Regions from separate parts of the Homo sapiens genome. Here all the other regions are linked to region 1. The links are contacts of gene promoters, found by promoter capture Hi-C in human tissues and cell types (Jung and others, 2019). All regions are on one chromosome and are shown on one strand. The core of a region is centred on a gene start or on the middle of the fragment in contact, and the rest is flanking DNA. Distances in the headings are between cores, read along the strand shown.

What was found. The method cuts DNA at HindIII sites, captures the fragments that hold promoters and counts their contacts. A contact is called where the count stands out against the background at its distance.
Region 2: a fragment that was not itself captured here is called in contact with the fragment with the promoter of DPAGT1 in region 1 in 1 of the 25 tissues and cell types used here (dorsolateral prefrontal cortex).
Region 3: a fragment that was not itself captured here is called in contact with the fragment with the promoter of DPAGT1 in region 1 in 2 of the 25 tissues and cell types used here (dorsolateral prefrontal cortex and mesenchymal stem cells).

What each region holds. Positions count from the first base shown.
Region 1 is chr11:119,100,603-119,103,759 of GRCh38, reverse strand. It overlaps DPAGT1 (dolichyl-phosphate N-acetylglucosaminephosphotransferase 1), which reads left to right and starts at 1,907. Exons shown (of 9, transcript NM_001382.4): 1 at 1,907-2,265; 2 at 2,622-2,742; 3 at 2,917-3,130. The coding sequence starts at 2,105. It also overlaps a transcript of C2CD2L not described here. RefSeq lists enhancers at 639-1,351, 1,563-1,872, 1,055-2,254, 2,066-2,779. The HindIII fragment of the contact is 6,056 bases long and covers 480-3,157 here.
Region 2 is chr11:119,352,999-119,356,155 of GRCh38, reverse strand. USP2 (ubiquitin specific peptidase 2) reads left to right here. Exons shown (of 13, transcript NM_004205.5): 13 at 1-941. Among named protein-coding and RNA genes, the nearest start is that of MFRP, 7.9 kb to the right of the region's middle. The HindIII fragment of the contact is 6,124 bases long and covers 1-3,157 here.
Region 3 is chr11:119,251,621-119,254,777 of GRCh38, reverse strand. The region is part of intron 2 of CBL (Cbl proto-oncogene); the gene reads right to left. Among named protein-coding and RNA genes, the nearest start is that of CBL, 47 kb to the right of the region's middle. The HindIII fragment of the contact is 5,103 bases long and covers 1-3,157 here.

The DNA.
Region 1 (3,157 bases), core at 658-3,157:
TAGAGCCATTTTCAAGTAGAAAAGCCATTTCACATCTGATTTAGTTTGTTTGTTTGTTTGTTTTGAGACAGTTTCCCCTCTGTTGCCCAGGCTGGGATGCAGTGGCATGATCGCGGCTCACTGCAACCTCCTCATCCCAGGTTCAAGCGATCCTCCTGCCTCAGCCTCCTGAGTAGCTGAGATTACAGGCATGTGCCACCACACCCGGCTAATTTTTGTATTTTCAGTAGAGACGGGGTTTCACCGTGTTGGCCAGGCTGGTCTCGAACTCCTGACCTCAAGTGAGCCACCCACCTTCGCCTACCAAAGTGCTGGGATTACAGACGTTAGCCACTGCGCCCGGCCTCACATCTGATTTTGAGGGAAAGAAGAAACTATCTTCGGCTTAAAAACGGTCAACATGACCCTGACTCCTGGAACATGCCATAGAGGGAAGAGTGGACAAAGCGCTAGGCTATTGGAGTCCTTTCCCTAACTCACTGGTGGTGACTTCCTCTCTGACAAATGGAAATCATTTGCCGCCTAAGAGCCTGTCGGGGAATGAAAGGTAATAAAGATGCTGGTGAACTGGCTGGGCGTGGTGGCTCACGCCTGTACTCCCAGCATTTTGGGAGGCCAAGGCGGGCAGATCACCTGAGGTCGGGAGTCCCAAACCAGCCTGACCAACATAGGGAAATCCCGTCTCTACTAAAAATACAAAATTAGCCGGGCGTGGTGGCGCATGCCTGTAATTCCAGCTACTGCCTGTAATCCCAGCTACTCGGGAGGCTGAGGCAGGAGAATCTCTTGAACCTGGGAGGTGGAGGTTTCGGTGAGCCGAGATCGCGCCATTGCACTCCAGCCTGGGCAACAAGAGCGAAACTCTGTCTCAAAAAAAAAAAAAAAAAAAAAAAAAAAAAGCTGGTGAATTGTTGTTTGCAGGGGAACAGGCCAAGCAAAATGCACAGCAACCTGCAGGAGGCCAAGCAAAATGCACAGTGACCTACAGGAAGAAACCTGACTGGGAGTTCCTCAGACTCACAGGAAATCAGTTGTGGGTCTGATTCCTCTCCCTCCTCAGCTCTTTCCAGAGCCTCAGCCTGGAAATCTCCATCTCCTCCTTGTGGGAGCTAGGTACAATGCAGTGATCCACGGCCAAGCTGAAGTCTCGAGTTAAATCCAAGACCTGAGGGTACTCCCAATCCCTCAGTGAAGTGCTGCGCTGGGTTGCCGGGCAACTAACTGCTACAGCTGGGGCAGAAGGTGGGTGGGATGCTGAGAAAAAAATACCAGAATCGAGGACAAGAAAAACAGAGTGGGAGGGGCTTTTCAAGGATCTACGCTTTAGAATTTACACCATCCTTCCAAATCGTAGCTTTGTTTCCGGGAACTGAGTTGTGTTTACCTTGGCTTCCGACTATGTTGGCAACAGGTTTCCTGCAAGAAACAGGCGCGTCTCCACACCCTCGTCCCTCCTCCCCACCCCCTGCCTTTCAATAGCCATCTTCCTGGAGCCGGAGGCATCCCAGATTAAGGGAGAGGTACGGGCCCTTTAAGCTTGACCTATGGAGGCGGACGGAGCTAAAACTGACGTGGAACCGGAATGTGAGCGGTGTCAGACACGTGGTACAAGGAGGCATTCATCTTGGAACCGGGCAATTGGCATTTCCGCTCTGGGTAGTACATCTTTAACATAATGTTAGGGAAGTATCCGTTCTTGGCTGCCTTTCTTTAATTGCGTTTCCAGTACTCTCTCGGTGATTCTACTCTTGAACATAGGATGAAATTTGGAATCACACTTCTCTTCCACTTCCATCCCCACCCTCTAATGCCCATATTAAAAATGGCGGCCGCCGCCTTCCGCAGTAATGGTTGTTCAGCGAACAAGATCCGGGCGGAAACAGTAGATAGGCGGGTGCAGCGGGGCAGAACATAGGTTGCCTTAGAGAGGTTCCCCGGTGTCCCGACGGCGGCTCAAGTCAGAGTTGCTGGGTTTTGCTCAGATTGGTGTGGGAAGAGCCTGCCTGTGGGGAGCGGCCACTCCATACTGCTGAGGCCTCAGGACTGCTGCTCAGCTTGCCCGTTACCTGAAGAGGCGGCGGAGCCGGGCCCCTGACCGGTCACCATGTGGGCCTTCTCGGAATTGCCCATGCCGCTGCTGATCAATTTGATCGTCTCGCTGCTGGGATTTGTGGCCACAGTCACCCTCATCCCGGCCTTCCGGGGCCACTTCATTGCTGCGCGCCTCTGTGGTCAGGACCTCAACAAAACCAGCCGACAGCAGATGTGAGCAGCGGCACACGGGTCCGGGCAGGGGGCAAGGGCTAAGGAAGGAGTGGCTAGGGCAGGGGCGGGAACCGGGGTGCTTGACCACACGTGAAGACTCAGAACTAACCCAGGCAGCCTGGAACTCGGAGAGGTGATGAGCAGAACTTACTCGCATTGGGGAAAGGATGGGTAGGGACCCTTGGGTATATCTGGGACTCTGGCAGTGGTGCTTTCCTCCCTCCGCCCCCCTCACCACTTACCAGAATAAAAAACCGGGAATGAGAAGACCACTTTGGGTTACTGTAACACCTGCACTAGTGAGTGACCACGCCCCCTTTCCTCTTCCCCCTCGCCCCCTTGCTGCTGGGCCACAGCCCAGAATCCCAGGGAGTGATCAGCGGTGCTGTTTTCCTTATCATCCTCTTCTGCTTCATCCCTTTCCCCTTCCTGAACTGCTTTGTGAAGGAGCAGTGTAAGGCATTCCCCCACCATGAAGTAAGTGGGTTCGTGGGGGTGATTGCCTGTGGCTGGGACCTGGGAGGTACCTGAGAGAACTGGGGTTATTTGGGCTTGTGGGGAGGGGCTAAGAAATTATCAGAAAAGACAGGAATTCTTAAAAGGTGGAATGGGAGCAGGCTTGAGTCATGGACCTGCCCGAGCCTCCCCCAGTTTGTGGCCCTGATAGGTGCCCTCCTTGCCATCTGCTGCATGATCTTCCTGGGCTTTGCGGATGATGTACTGAATCTGCGCTGGCGCCATAAGCTGCTGCTACCTACAGCTGCCTCACTACCTCTCCTCATGGTCTATTTCACCAACTTTGGCAACACGACCATTGTGGTGCCCAAGCCCTTCCGCCCGATACTTGGCCTGCATCTGGACTTGGGTAGGTAGTCCTACCACTGCTGCCCCT
Region 2 (3,157 bases), core at 416-2,915, 250 kb before region 1:
TCCGTGGTGCTAGGTGGGCGTTGGCCAGGCCCCAAGCACAGCCACAGTAGACCTGGGATCTAAAACAAGTTTCTGTTTTGGGGGTTTGGGTTTTTTTTTTTTTTTTTTAATGTTTTGAATGGAATTTAGTTGCCTCCAAGAATTGTGCCTTATAGCATTTGGGGACCAGGGGGTAACTGCCCCTCCTGAAATATCCCTCAGCCTCTTCCCTTTTCCCCAGTGCTCTGTTCAAACCCGCCTGGGAAAGGGATCCTGCCCTTAGCCCTGGCTCGTTGTGCATTGCAGTGAGGCAAAGAAGAAAGCAGGTAGATTCCTTCCGACAGGGCATCAAGTTCTTCCCGCCCACGTCCTCTAGCCCACCCCTGGTCTGCTCCCCAGCTGTTTGAAGGATAGCACAAGCCCCTCGTCCCTAGAGCTTCTCTCCCTTTTATTTATTCTCTTAACATCCCTTTCCCCCTGGCCTTCCTGCCCCCGCCCCCTTCTCAGAGCCTCCTAGACAATAGGCCCTTTGGACCGAGTTTCTCAGGGATGCCCAGGCCACCCCTCAGCTCTTCTTAGCGCTGGTCTCCAGTCCTGCCCTGGGAGCTGGAGCCTGGGTATTTGGGGACATCTTGCCTCAGTTGTATGGTTCTTTCCTGTGGGCTCAATTTTGCCCTACATAGTTGGATAAAACTCTGTGCTGTCCTGGAGAGTAAAGCTGTTCACCCACACAGCTGGGCCCGGCTTGTGCCCCGTGGAGCCTGGCACATTCCAGGCTCCTAGGAGGAGGCATCAGAGAAAGACACCCTGAGTTTTACTGGCCTGACACCCTTCTCCAGAGAAGACCTGTGAACCTGAGCCCAAGGGCAAGTGTACACTTGTTTACTGTGTAAGCAAGAGTAGAAGAATGTCTAATGTACAGTGGAACCTTGTACAGAATAAATAATAGCTTTGAGAAATCAGTTGGCAGATGTTGGAATCTTGATTTGGGAGTGTTTGAATCTAGGAAGGGCTCCTAGTATATTAGGGGCCATCTATTTCATTGTTTCAACCAGTTTGTAAATTCCAAGTTTCTGGAAAAAGTTACCCACTTTTTAGTTTGAACATTTAAGTTTAATTTTTTAAAAACTGAAACAATACATATTTTGGACACTATATTCTTCATCTGGATTCACCAATTGTTTACAAACACATTTAAATATACAGCCATCCCCCAGTATACACAGGGAGATTGGTTCCAAGATACACACATACCAAAATCTGCACCATATTCAAGTCCCAAGGTCACCCCTGCAGAACCTGCGTATATGAAAATCAGCCTTCTATATATGTGGGTTTTGCATCTTACAAATGCAGTATTTTCTATCCTTATTTGGTTGAAAAAATCCACGTGAAAGTGGACCCACACAGTTCAAGCCCGCATTGTTCAAAGGTCAACTGTACTTTATTCTGTCTGCCGAAACATTTTCAGGTGAGGTGTTATATCACCACTTCTAAATACTTGAGCATACATCTCCTAAGAATCAGGACATTCTCCTATGTGACATGGTTTTCACATGTCCATTTTTTTTTTTAATGAACTGTCTACTTTTTAATGCTGGTATGGGCTACTCTCTTAATTCTTGGTTGAAACTCTTGGGGCTGGGCATGGTGGCTCACACCAGTAATTCAAGAAGTTGAAGTGAGAGGATGGCTTAAGGCCAGGAGTTTGAGACCAGCCTGGGCAACATAGTGAGACCCTGTCTCTATGAAAAAAGAAACACTTGGGTGTTTTCACAGACCTATGATAAGATAAAATACATCTCTCCAGCAGATGTCAAATATAGCAAAACTTGCTCTTAGAGCAGAGTATCATTACCTGGATGTGGAGTGACCAGGGCTTAGTCTTTTTTTTTTTTTTTTTTTTTTTTTGAGACAGAGTTTCACTCTTGTTGCCCAGGCTGGAGCGCAATGGCATGATCTCAGCTCACTGCAACCTCCATCTCCTGGGTTCAAGCGATTCTCCTGCCTCAGCCTCCCAGTAGCTGGGATTACAGGCATACGCCACCACGACCAGCTATTTTTCTATTTTTAGTAGAGACGGGGGTGTCTCCATGTTGGTCAGGCTGGTCTCGAACTCCTGACCTCAGGTGATCTGCCTGACTCGGCCTCCCAAAGTGCTGAGATTACAGGCGTGAGCCACCACGCCCAGCCAGGGCTTAGTCTTTGATAAGTCAAAGATCTCAGCTTTACCACCTAATACTTAGAAACAGTTACCTTTATGTTACAGGCTTTGTTCCCTAAAGTGCTTTTTCTCAAGACTTCAGATTTAACCCCTAAAAGAGGTGATGCCTTTGGTGCACTCGGTGACCCACGTCTCCTTTGGTGTCACCTCTTCATTAGCACTGTTCAGCTTTTCCATTTCTGCTGCTGGTCTTAGAACTAGGGAAGCTGAAGGCTCCACCAGGTGAGCCTGGAGTGTTTCATCAGGATTCTTCCTCACTGCCTTCACTGCTCCAGACACTGAAAAATAAAGGCCTGACTATTCCATCCTTGCTGAGACAGAAGCACCTGCTGTCACTTAAGGCCTGTGTGCTGCTATCAAACCCACCTCATGGAGGGGGACAGTTGTGGGGGCATTTTTCTAAGCATTTCCCAAGAGTGAAGAAGAGGGATTGAAAATGACAGTGACTTAAAACTTGGAATTTCTCCCTGAGGGACCCAAACTTCCCTGGCCTGCCCTGAGGGTGGCCTGACCCAGGCTGTGATTGGAAATCTTACCCTGATGATTGCCCCCAAGCCGCAGGCAAACAGGATCCCCTCAAAATAAAAACATGAGGCTTGTAGCAAAGTGAATGGCTGTACTCTGACTAGTTCTTCACTGGAGGTAGAAGCAGCCCTGTAATTTTTGCTGTCTTCCACTGGGGAACAGATGGACTCTAGGAGACATTGAGGGCAGGGGCTCCACTCAGGTCCGCCACCCTTGCTCCCAGCTCTTCAGTAATTAATCTGTGGTGCTTTCTCATCCCCATGGCAACAGGTCCTAGTGTTACACAGAGCACAAACACACGCAGGTCTGTCCCCACGTTTTTTTGTCCATCAAGCTTTGCCTCCTAGCAACTTGGCTCTCTTCCCTCATTGTTTGCTCTTGATCCAGCAGGCCTCTCCCTAGGGGAGGGGCTTCCCCTGCAACTGCTCT
Region 3 (3,157 bases), core at 185-2,684, 150 kb before region 1:
ATACAAAAATTAGCTGGGCGTGGTGGTGCACACCTGTAATCCCAGCTACTCAGGAGTCTGAGGCAGGAGAATTGCTTGAACCTGGGAGGCGGAGGCTGCCGTGAGCCAAGATGGCACCACTGCATTCCAGCCTGGGCGACAGGACGAGACTCTGTCTCAAAAAAAAAAAAGATAAAAAAAGATTATAATACCACATTTTTACTGCACCTTTTCTATGTTTACATGTTAAAATACATACTTACCATTGTGTTACAACTGTCTACAGTACTCAGTACAGTAACATGCTGTACAGGTTGGTAGCCTATGAGCAATAAGCTCTACCGTATAGCCTAGGTGTGTGGGCGGCTGTATCATCTAGGTTTCTGTAAGTACACTCTATGACGTTCACACAACAACTAAATCAGGCAGCAATACATTTCTCAAAATGCATCCTGTCGTTAGCAATACATGGTTGCACTTACATAAAAGAAAATTTCAATGGACTTTAAATTGTGACATTTCTTTTTTAAATATTGTGGTAAAATATACTTACCAAAATTTACTATTTTAAGCATTTTTAAGTGTATAATTCAGTGAACATGACTTTTCTTTTTTATAGAGACGAGGTCTTGCTATTACACAGGCTAGTCTCAAACTCCTGGCCTCAAGTGATCCTCTTGCCTCGATCTCCAAAAGTGCTAGAATTACAGGTGTGAGGCACCAAGACCAGCTGACTTTTGATAACACTTTCCCCTTTCTATAATTTTTCATCAATCAGTGTATGTCCTTTTTTTTTTTTTTTTTTTTTTTGAGTCAAGGTCTCACTCTGTTGACTAGGTTGTACTCAAACTCCTGGCCTCAAGTGATCTCACCTCAGTCTCCAAAAGTGCTGGGATTACTTACAAACGTGAGCCAACAAGACTGGCTGATGATATTTTTGTTTTTGTTTTTGTTTTTGTTTTTAGATGGGGTCTCACTGTGTTGCCCAGGCTAGACTCCAGTGGCATGATCACAGCTCACTGCAGCCTAAACCTCCCACACTCAAGCATCTTCCCAAATCAGCCTCCAGAACAGCTTAGACCACAGGTATGCGCCACCACACCCAGATAATTTTATTATTATTATTATTATTAAGACAGAGTTTAACTCCTGTTGCCCAGGCTGGAGTGCAATGGTACGATCTTGGTTCACTGCAACTTCCACCTCCCAGGTTCAAGCAATTCTCCTGCCTCAGCCTCCCGAGTAGGTGAGATTACAGGTGTGAGCCACATCGTCCAGCCTGGGTGACTTTTATTAACACTTTCTCCTTTACATAATTTTTCATCAATGACTTTTTTTTTTTTTTTTTGAGATGAGGTCTTGCTATATTGAGCAGGCTGGATCGAACTCCTGGGCTCAAGTGATCCTCCCATCTCAGCCTCCTGAATAGCTGGGACTACAGGCATATGCCACGGTGCATGGCTCTAATTTTCTTTTAATCAAATACCATGTCCTGTTTTCTGTGAACCAGGCATTATTCTAAGTACTTTGTAACAATCTTATGAGAATACTTAAAAAAATTTTTTTTTCAAATGACAAATAATTGTCTATATTCATGGGGTACAATGTGATGTTTTGATAACGTTTATACTTTGAAATGATTAAACTATGAGAACACTTGAAATGAGAAATCTGAGTTTTTAAAAGCAACTTGTTTCCAGCTCCATGATATGTGCATGTAACCTTATTCTACACTGCCTTCATCTCACTGCTAAACACTTTGTATCTACTGACACGTAAGTGTGCCAACTGGTAAAATGACTAAGAAACTATGCTACCAACAATATGTTAATCATTTAGGATCTGCAAGGAAGATAATTTATAAAACCTCAACCTAGTGATTTTATTTTTTTTTAATCTTTTTTTTTTTTTTTTCTTGAGATGGAGTTTCACTTTTACTGCCCAGGCTAGAGTGTAATGGCATGACCTCGGCTGACTGCAACCTCCGCCTCTTGTGTTGAAGCAATTCTCCTGCCCTCAGCCCTCCCAAGTAGCTGAGATTACAGGCGCCTACCACCACGCCCAGCTAAGTTTTTTTGTTTGTTTGTTTGTTTGTTTGTATTTTTGGTAGAGATGGGGTTTCACCATGTTGGCCAGGCTGGTCTCGAACTCCTGACCTCAGGTGATCCACCCGCCTCGGCCTCCCAAAGTGCTGGGATTATAGGCGTGAGCCACCGCACCTGGCCTCAATCTAGTGATTTTAAGAGTATCTAATATTTAGTCATACATAGGCCTAAAAAGCCCTGCACAATGGTTGATGTCAATAGCACTTAGATTGCTATTTAACAGAAAGCACAATGGAAGATTTTCTTTCCCTAAGTGGCTTTTTAATCATACTCAATGAAGTAAAAGAACAGGAGGAAAGGAATCACTATTATCTGGTTCAACTTTAGAAAGAAAATATTCAACTGATTATTTTAAATGTAAATACCCTGAAAAAAATACCATAAATATAAGGAAACAAGTTAAGAAACACTAAATCTAAATACTTAACTTGGATTTCAACCACCTAGATATATTAGACACTAGACTGGATGAGTGTTCTGCATGTAAATGGAGTAGGGGGAGGGTTTATGGAAAGAGAGAAAAGAAAAATGTTAACAAAAGGTTTTTTTTTTTTTCCATTTCTGTAACAAATTTAACACACAGGATTTAAGCTTTCTGAAGAAAATGTATTATTAAATTCAAATCACAACAAATAAGAGTAAAAAAAACTAAGCTGCCAGGATTGAAGTTTACAATGCTGCTAACATTTTCACACTACTAGGTATCTCTAGCAGGCATTTGTTGGCTTTGTATACTAAAGCCTGGCAGGAAAGACGTTCTTGTAGCCAGTTTTGGGGCTTGTTCTTTAAGATGTCCTAATTTAAATGCAGTTGTAGACTTCACAAGTATTATGGTTTTAGAGCAAGTCTTGGTTGGCAATATTAGAGTAAAGTGATTGGAAAAAGCTTCTGCACTTTCTACTTGACATTCACAGCCTACTTCTCTATAATACCGTAGTTTTACAAAAGTTATCACTGATTCTTGGGGGTGGGTGCAGGAGGGTTTCTTTGTAATTCCTCTCTCTGCATCATCTAGCCTATGTTCCATTAGAAATTTCAGGAGTGAAACTCTCGTTATGTGAACATATAATCCT